Linked DNA regions of Homo sapiens: regions 1 and 3 are each linked to region 2. Evidence: promoter capture Hi-C in 16 types of primary human blood cells and fetal thymus (Javierre and others, 2016). All regions are on one chromosome and are shown on one strand. The core of a region is centred on a gene start or on the middle of the fragment in contact, and the rest is flanking DNA. Distances in the headings are between cores, read along the strand shown. Region 1 overlaps MRPS27 (mitochondrial ribosomal protein S27). Region 2 holds the start of MAP1B (microtubule associated protein 1B). Region 3 overlaps MRPS27 (mitochondrial ribosomal protein S27).

What was found. The method cuts DNA at HindIII sites, captures the fragments that hold promoters and counts their contacts. A CHiCAGO score of 5 or more calls a contact.
Region 1: a fragment that was not itself captured here is called in contact with the fragment with the promoter of MAP1B in region 2 in 1 of 17 cell types (total CD8 T cells); the score reaches 5.1 in total CD8 T cells.
Region 3: a contact is called between a fragment that was not itself captured here and the fragment with the promoter of MAP1B in region 2, in 1 of 17 cell types (endothelial precursors). The highest score is 5.5, in endothelial precursors.

Annotation. Positions count from the first base shown.
Region 1 is chr5:72,290,806-72,293,771 of GRCh38, forward strand. All of the region lies in intron 4 of MRPS27 (mitochondrial ribosomal protein S27), which reads right to left. LOC107986422 (a long non-coding RNA gene) reads right to left here. Exons shown (of 2, transcript XR_001742742.2): 1 at 145-2,966. Among named protein-coding and RNA genes, the nearest start is that of MRPS27, 28 kb to the right of the region's middle. The HindIII fragment of the contact is 4,217 bases long and covers 1-2,966 here.
Region 2 is chr5:72,106,202-72,109,426 of GRCh38, forward strand. It overlaps MAP1B (microtubule associated protein 1B), which reads left to right and starts at 1,274. Exons shown (of 7, transcript NM_005909.5): 1 at 1,274-1,514. The coding sequence starts at 1,331. It overlaps LOC105379028 (a long non-coding RNA gene), which reads right to left. Exons shown (of 3, transcript XR_007058813.1): 1 at 2,574-3,225; 2 at 1,724-1,786. RefSeq lists enhancers at 1,193-2,175, 2,581-2,875. The HindIII fragment of the contact is 9,795 bases long and covers 1-3,225 here.
Region 3 is chr5:72,307,121-72,310,182 of GRCh38, forward strand. The region is part of intron 2 of MRPS27 (mitochondrial ribosomal protein S27); the gene reads right to left. Among named protein-coding and RNA genes, the nearest start is that of MRPS27, 12 kb to the right of the region's middle. RefSeq lists an enhancer at 992-1,241 and a silencer at 1,292-1,581. The HindIII fragment of the contact is 838 bases long and covers 838-1,675 here.

The sequences.
Region 1 (2,966 bases), core at 100-2,599, 180 kb after region 2:
AATATAAAAAATAAATGCAGTCTTTTTATGCCCACTGAACAGACATTTCCTGTCAGCAGCTGTTAGCTGAGCTGTTCTGTTACCTCTCTTTTCTGCGTCACAGAACCTTTGCTGCTACCACTGGGAAAGAGCATGACTTCTTACCTCACCAAGGACTGGGTGATGGTGATATCAAAATAAAGCGGAAATGCTCCTGTCTAGCACCCTGCCAGCGCTGGTCTCCTGACAGGTAGCATCTCAGGGCCTGTCCAAATCTTCTCACTCCTCACCACACCTTTTTTCCGGTGCTGTAGGGAAACTTGGGAGACTGGCTGTATCTAAATTTTCATTGTGAAGACAGAAAACCCATCAATTATATGCTTGTCTTACTTGGTAAGGTCTAAACTAAGAAAGTCTTCTTTGTAAGAAGAGAAAACAAAGACCCAGAGTATTTAAAACCCAAAAAACCTAAGGGAAGAAATAAAAATAAGTCTAAGCAAAAGAACCTATTTTTCAAACAAGATCTCACAGCAGGGTTCCTAACAATTTTTTGTCTTGAACCCTCTGGCAGTCTGATGAAGGCTTCTCAGAATTAGTTTCTTACAACAGAAACCAATTATATTGAAATACAATTATCAAGATATTAAGAAATCTTTGGGATATGGTAACATATGTGCTGCTTTATTAATGCATGAAATAACACTAGCTAGCGGTAGGTTTAATTACTAACATAATTTCTAAGCAGTGATATCTGTAACAAATGTAATGTGATATGAAAAAATCAATGATTTTTATTGGCAAGAAAGACACAGATGCTGTTAATATTATAGTCATCTGCTGCCTACATTCATAAATGAAAGAAATGCTAAATATTATTGAGGTTAGTGAAAATAAAAATATAATTTTATTCTTATGCAAGTTCACAGTCCTCTCTGAATTTTCTCTGTAGACACCGATAAGGCAGCTGGAGGCACAGTTTCTCTGGCAGAAACAGAAGCAAAAGCAAATGGCCTGTGGCAGCATGGTCTGGCCTATCTCCAGACCTATTCTTCCCCCAAGCCACGCCCTAGAGGGCCTATAAGAAACTAGCTCCAGGGCTTCTCAGAAGACAGCTTGAAAACCACTCATAAAGAGGTTTACCATTTAGCCTGCTAGTAATATCTGTGCAAGAGCACACCTATGCCTATTTTCCCAACCTCCCGGCTTAAACTATACATATCGTATAAAGTCCCTGGCTCAAATCCTTATTTCATTTTACTGTATTTATTTTTTATTATCTTATTTAAGTTTTCTTTATTTGTCACAGCCCAACAGTATGCCTTGTTTCCTTATTTTGTTTATTTTACTTTGTTTTAACTTTGTTGCTATTTTAATCACTTTTACTCTTGGTTTATTTTCCTTTTATATGGGTATTACCAGTTTTTTTTTTTTTTTTTTTTTGGCCAATGAATATAGTTGCTGGTATTGCCTTAATCATTTTTAGTTCACATTATTCTTTGGTTAGAGCTTCACCCTTTCCTTGGTGTTTTCATTTTTTATTTATAAATAGAAGGCAAAAGTTGATCATAGGATTGCCAGCTCCCAGAGAATAGACCACGGCCCAAATAAAAGTACTTAGAAATTTGTTCTCCTGCCTGCTGTCTGAATAGCAGCCTTTCTATCTCTCCTTAAAAGATCCCTTTAATGTTGAAGTCCCTAAACATTTAAGCCTATGTACTTTCAGAGATTCAAAACTTGAAATCTTCTGCTGGGATGATAGGGTGATAATAAGCTGGCAGGTACCAGCAGCACCCTGAGCTGCTGGAACTTGGAACTGTTTACTTGTGTGCCTGATGCAATGGCAGAAGCTCAATCAGCTCTTCACTGATCATTCAAGGTTTCTAAACTTCTTTGGCTCTAGACTTTACATAATAATTGCGGAAATTTGATCACTAGAAGAGGAGAAGATGTGGCAGCTACACTCCTGCTAGCAGAGCCTGGTGTTCACAGGTTATGTCAGAGAAAGAGGTGAACCAATGCCAAAGTTCTCCTGTGGGCTTGTCTGTTAAAGACGGTACTGCTTAAGGACTGAGAAATCCTAACCCCAGGCCTGCAAGCTGTGAGTTGTATAAAATTAAGAAGTTCCTTTTTCATTTCCTCACCTTAGACCTGGAATTGTAAGTTTGCTCCGAGATGTCTAAAGTCATCCCATGAGGAGATGTTAGGCATCATAATGATTGAAGGCCTAACTGGTAGAAATATTACACAGCAGTAAGTCCTTGGTGTCTTCAGGATTAACATCCCTGATTTTGATTACTTGAGATAAACCCCAAGAGTTTATAACTTGTAATTTTTAATTTTGCTAAGGCATAAGTATGTTCTGTATATTCTCTAAGGGTGGAAAGCAAGAGTGAGGCACTTAGCTAACGAGAGAACCCAGCCAATCTCCACTGTTCCGACGCAGCTTTGTAGAGTTCTACCTAGTCTCATATATATACAAGCACATGAAGTCATAAAAACATTTCTGTCTTAAAAAAAAAAAAAGCTGATAAAAAGAGAGTCAATTTTCTTGGTAATGGAAGGGAGGAGAAAGAACTAAGATAAACGATAAATCATAGCTAAAGAACTAGTTTTGATTAAAGCAAAAAATGGGATGTCCAATTAAACAGTGGCTCAGATTTATGATGGACAAGAGTCTTTTATTTGATCTATATGGAAATAGGACGTAGTGATCTTATGAAACTTTCAGTTATACCCCAGGCCACACAAAACTGAACATCATGTGAAGAATTAATCATAGAAGGTCTTAAAAACAGAATTTCAACTTTTCAGTAATACTTGGAGAATGTCTAACTTATTCAACATTAGATATCCAGCACCCAGGAAAGGGCCTGCGCACATAATAGGTGCTCGGTAAATACTTGTTGAAATGCTGAGTCACTGAAATCAATTTGATGCTACAGAAGTACTTCTGAATTTGGAACATACTTCTCCCAACACTATGGCAC
Region 2 (3,225 bases), core at 24-2,523:
CTCGAATTCCCCAGTCTTCTATGATACCATGTTTGCACATTTTGCTCTTTCCTCACCCTCCTCCCCTTTTCTGGGACAGAAGCTATATTCAGTATGTTTGTGAGAAACGGTTGTAAATAGGCTGCCTTAAAAAAAAAAACAAAAAAACAAAAACAAAAAACACATTTTTTAGTTCTTCTAAACACAAACAAAGGCAATAAAAATTCCCAATGCTACAGGTATTTTAAAAGACATCATTGTCACGAGGTAATTTTGCTTGTGTGTTCCCCAAGGAACTGAAAAGTACATTATAGTCACTGTAACCCTGCTGAGTAGAGACAGTATCTTCTCTTTATTCTTTGTTATTACTGATACTATCTGTTCAGCACATTAAGGAAAGAAATTGGTATCTAATATAATACATCTGCATTTCTCTCATTTCCCATGAGCACCACAAAGCCAGTACTTTTTCATCCTTGGCCCTGCCAGAGTAGAATCCAAGGCCTGAACAATAGTAGGCTTAAGTTTTGCATTTTTGATGTATTCTTTAAGTGAAGGTGGTAAATATTGATATTGGTAAATATCAGTAAATTCGTCTTCTTAAAGCCACAAGGTCAAAGAAAAGACAGGTTCCGTCTTCCTAGGCGGGGTACCCACAGCCCCGCATCTGCCCACTGTGGCTATCCCAGTTCCTGAGAACCTGGCTACATCATACACAGCACACAAGGCAGAGGCCTGACTAGTGCAACTCCAACAAGAGAAAAGACCCCCACTCCGAAAATGGAAACTCATCCCATTCCCATGCACAGACAGGGTGAGGGTGAGGAGTGGGCAGTGGGTGTGTACGTGGTGGGTGGTGTAGGTTGAGAGCGTCTTCCCCCTTCACGGCTGCAGCAGGAGCTCAGCGGGCGCCCCAGCCCCTTGGCTCGCGGCCCTGCCCCGACCATTGTCCGCACACCTCGTCCCTCCAGCTTCCGGGCCGCGGGCGAGATGATTTGCTGCAGATGACATCAGCCCCGGGCCAACGGCTGGAAGAGCGGAGGCAGCCACCGCGTGAGGATGTGCCGGGTGGTCCTTTCCTCCTCCTCTTCCTCCTCCTCCCGGCTCCCTGCCTAGTCTCCATATAAAAGCGGCGCCGCCTCCCCGCCCTCTCTCACTCCCCGCTCCTCTCCGCCGCGCACTCTCCGCGGCGCTGGGAGAGGGCGGAGGGGGAGGCGGCGCGCGGCGCCAGAGGAGGGGGGACGCAGGGGGCGGAGCGGAGACAGTACCTTCGGAGATAATCCTTTCTCCTGCCGCAGTGGAGAGGAGCGGCCGGAGCGAGACACTTCGCCGAGGCACAGCAGCCGGCAGGATGGCGACCGTGGTGGTGGAAGCCACCGAGCCGGAGCCGTCCGGCAGCATCGCCAACCCGGCGGCGTCCACCTCGCCTAGCCTGTCGCACCGCTTCCTTGACAGCAAGTTCTACTTGCTGGTGGTCGTCGGCGAGATCGTGACCGAGGAGCACCTGCGGCGTGCCATCGGCAACATCGAGCTCGGTAAGTGGCCCCGCGCCCCCAGAGACGCGCGCTGGGAGACGCGCAAACACGACCCCACCCAGGGCGCGACGGTCACTGCGCTCCTCCCGCGCGCCCCGCACCCATGCCTCTCCTCGTCACCTCTCATACTTGGTCCAGACCCTTTCTGGGCTAATTAAGAATAATCCGAATTATTAGATATGAGACCCAGAGGGAGAGTCTCCAATAACCTTGAGGGATCTGTCACCACGCTGAGTCCGCAGCCTGTGCTGAGTTGGCCACCGCCTCTCCCGCTAAGTGAAATGCAGGTGTCAGGGGAGCAGAGGCCACAATAAAGCCGCAACCGCAGGAGGCAGAAGGGTGGGGGAGACCTGATGCAACCACTCCTTTCAGTCCTCTTCTGGCCTCAGGAAAAGGCTGGGACCCCCACCACCGCAGACCTGGGGCCGAAGCCCATGTGCCAGGGCCCGCGTGGGATTCATCCTCACCACGGCTACCTCAGCCCCTGAGAAACGCCTTTTCTGATTTCAAACCTCCCGATCCTTTCTTTCCTCAGAATGACTAGGCTAGTCCTAGGGCCACGCCCGCTCCCCCCGCCCCCCCCTCCCCGGGGAGATGCTGGGATGCAGAACCGCCTGCGCTTCGCCACCAGACAGAGCCCGCCTCGCTACCGCCCTTGGGGCCTTGGCTGCAGCTCTCAGAAAGGACAATGGGACCCCAAGTTGCGGGGTGGGGCTGCTGCTTTTAGAAGTCCCAGCCTCGGGAGTGGTAGCTTGAAGGGGGTCGGTGAGGGAGACGTCAGCGGGTAGGGTCAGCTCCTCGCCCGGTGCTCGCACCAGTGGCGCGCTCTGCGGAGGCCGAATAGCGGTACGCCGGGGACCCTGGGCGGGGCCGTGAGGGTCCGGCGGGCACAGCCTCGGGCGCACAGAGAGACCGCCCCCAGCCCCACCCGAGCTGCCGCAGTGCCTCCGGACCGCCCGCCACACCTGCCCCCCCACACTGCGGCGCCCCCGTCGGGCACGGCTGGCTGGGCTTGCGCTCCGCCCGGGCCTCGGGCTGGCGGGGGCCGCGCGCCCCCACCTCTCAGTTTGCCTGGCTTTGTTGCCCTGGGAGTCCCTGGGTGGGCAGCTCTGGTCTCTGCCTTTCCCTTTATCCCTGGCGTCCCGGCCCTCCCCTCGCTCCTGACAGAGGTCGCCGGGTCCCTCCGCAGCCCCAGCCCGCGCTCTATTCTCCTGGGGTGGTGCTGAAGCGTTTCTCCGGGAGACACCGGTTGGTGGGCGTGGTGCAGTCCGCACTGCGGTCTCTACGGCAGCCCGAGGCGGACAAAGGGCGTTCACGCAGCCCTCGTTCCCCACTCCCCCTCCCCAATAAAAGACGAAAGAAAAACCTTGTTTTAGATGAAAAAATAAATGCTTGTCATCTGCCTCTGCAGTTGGAAACGGCCACTTGTCCCCAGAACAAAAGGCTGCAGGGTGGGGACTGGAGTTGCAGACCTGGTTCTTTTGTTTAACTTTAAAGCACTTGATTTTCCCTTTTAGCTTAAAAAAAAAAAAGAAAAAAAATGTGAGCAGAAAGTCATAGTATTTTATTCCAAAAAATTCAAGAACAAGAGATATTTCAGTAGTGAAATGTCTTATTTGAGCATCTCAATAACCCTTCATTTTCAGACTATATAGGCCTTTGGTCTAATCTGTTCTAATTTAGTTTATTTGCACAATTTTCTCCTGGAAAA
Region 3 (3,062 bases), core at 7-2,506, 200 kb after region 2:
AGGTGGGCGGATCACGAGGTCACGAGTTCGAGACCAGCATGACCAAAAAGGCAAGACCCCATCTCTGCTAAAAATACAAAAATTAGCCGGGCATGGTGGCGGGCGCCTGTAATCCCAGCTTCTCGGGAGGCTGAGGCAGGAGAATCGCTTGAACCTGGGAGGAGGAGGTTTAAGCGAGCTGAGATCGTGCCATTGCACTCCAACCTGGGCGACAAGAGCAAGGCTCTAAGAAAATAAAATAAAATAAGAAAGAGAGTATCAGGGATATCTGAACACTAACTGGATATTTCGTGATATTTACAACCCTATTAATATTTTAGGTGTGATAATGGTATTGAAAAGCACCCTTGTCTTTTGGAGATCTGTATCAAAATATTTACGGATGAAATGACTTACTGCCTGGGATCTCCTTCAAAATTATCCAAAGCATCGGGATGGGGAAACAGTAATAAAGATAAAATAAAGACTAAGAGCTGATAATTGTTGAAGCCAGGTGATGGGTAAAGGGGGCTCCTTATACCAAGGTGTCTACACCTTCAAATGTTAAAACACTAAAAAAAAAAAATCTGTGGCGTTAGAAGTCAGGATACCGGTTACCTTTGGAGAGACTAAGTGGGGGCCGCAATAAGGGCTTCTGGAGCGGTAGGAATGCTCTTGCTTCCTACACAGGTTTACTCGCTTTGTGGTAATTCATCAATGTCTATATTACGACTTGCACACTTTTCAGTATGTATATTATACTCCAATAAAAAAGTATTTTAAAGAAGAAATCGACTACTTTAATGTAGGCGGAAGATCCTATGGTAGAATCTCAGGTACTACAGCAATCACTGAGAAAGCTTTTTGGGCGGAAAGGAAAGTGAGGCTCTCGCCCGGTTTCCTCCTCTCCACGGTGGAACTGGCAGCGGCCCTGGCTGGCTGCTGAGAGCGCGGAACGGGGCGGCGTTCTGACGTTCGCGCCGGGGCCCTCTGGACGCACCGCGGGCGCAGGTCCTAGACAGCTGCATTGGCGTCCACCGCGGCCCCGGCGCTGGGAAACTGCCCTCACGCTAGGGCCCTCCCCGAGGAGCTCTCTGGCACAATCAGCCACGAGGACGAAGAGAGGGGGCACCGGAACCGCAAGCCCACTCCGAGAGGCCAGAACCTCTCTCTCGCCGTACTCCCCGGCAGGGCACGGCTCAGGGGAGACGGCGCTCTGGCACATGAAGCCCACACCCACACGCCGCAGTGTCCCTTGCTGCCTCGATCTCCAATGGGGATGGGAGCGGCGAAAGCCTCATATCGGCCCTCCTCCGTCCCCCAATCAGCGAGCCCGCTTTGAGCACCTCACGGCCCTCCGGCTGGCGGCGCCCAATCACAGCGCTCCACATGCTGGGCGCGGCCCTGCGCGCGCACGCTACCCGACAGCCCCGCGCCCACTCGCCGCGTTCCACCCGCGGGGCGGCGGATTCCCGCAGGGGCCACACTGCCACCTACTGTCCCATCTCCAGAGCTGGAGCCACGGGCGCTCTCCCTACCATGCGGCCTCCCTGCTAAGTGCCAGTAGCTCAACCCAAACGCTCAAATAAAAATGAGGGAAAACAAGTAGTGTCGTCGAGTAAAACCGAAAACAATGTCCATTTTGAAAAAAGCGGCAATAATTACCTTCCAGTACACAGTAGGAAAAAGTCTCAAAAGCTTTCTTTGTTCCAAGCAGTGTGAGTTCCAAAACATTATTTCACCTCACACGTTTTATAGAGGGCTAAAAACAAGGGGCTTAGGGACTCCTCAGTGCACATATTTCTGAAGCACCTGCATGTCAGACGGAGAGGCAGGCATTACCATCATCTCTAATTTATAGGCACAGAAACCGAGTGTGACAGCTGAAAGCCGCAGAACTGGGACTGACACCCAGAAGTCGGCCTCCCAAGTGCAGACTTCAGCACATCATACACAAGGAAGGCACAAAGTGCTGAAAGAATATAGGGCAGGAAACATCGATTCTGACTGGAGAGATTCAGGATATACAAAGATATTCTAGGCAGAGGGGACAGCTGTCTCGGTGGCAGGAAAAATTCAGTAAATGGTGGCTAGTACTGCTTTTCCAAGAAAACTAGTCTTAACTGAGGAAAGGGAACAAATGTCTCTATGTGATATTTACTCATTGCAGACTTTTTTTTTTTTGAGACAGAGTCAGCTCTGTCGCCCAGGCTGTAGTGCAGCGGCGTGATCTCTGGCTCACTGCAACCTCTGCCTCCCGGGTTCGAGCGATTCTCCTGCTTCAGCCTCCATTGTAGCTGGGATTACAGGTGTGCGCCACCACGCCCGGCTATTTTGTAATTTTAGTAGAGGCGGGGTTTCACCATGTTGTCCAGGCTGGTCTTGAACTCCTGACTTGATCTGCCTACCTCAGCCTCCCAAAGTGCTGGGATTATAGGCGTGTGCCACTGCGTGCTGCCCCGCTGCAGATTATTATACTCATTATTTGGCAAACAGTTACTGCTTACTCAGGTATCCATGACAATGTTCCCTGGATTTGTGTGACTGACTATACCCAACACCAAGACACCAAACCTAGTGGCCTCATTTCCTAATCTTCCCTACATACCTAGGAAAGTGTTAATAAGCTTTCCTGGAATTCGTCATTCCCTTATCTGTACTTCACTGCACTTTGCTTATAATTCACATATGGCACATCCGAACACGCCTTGCTGTATAACTATGAGTCCATACTGGTCTGATCACTAGAACAGTATAGTATTGGCCCTACAGAGCATTTTAGGATATGTGGAAGTTGGTCTTGATTGTCACAATGACTGAAAGGCATTACTGGCACTTAATGGACAGAAAACAGGGAATTCAGATGACCTGCAATGCTGAGACTGTCCCGTACATCAAAACACTGTCTCTAGTGGGAGCCAGGGCTGTCAGTATGGAAGACGGGAGATACAAATATGGACTGGAGCAAGGCAAGAAGAATCCCATAGGGATGAACTTGGGATTGGTGTGAACTCATTATCTGCAAAATATATATAGTATATGTATATGCATATGTGTACATGTATGTTTATGTGTATGTGCAT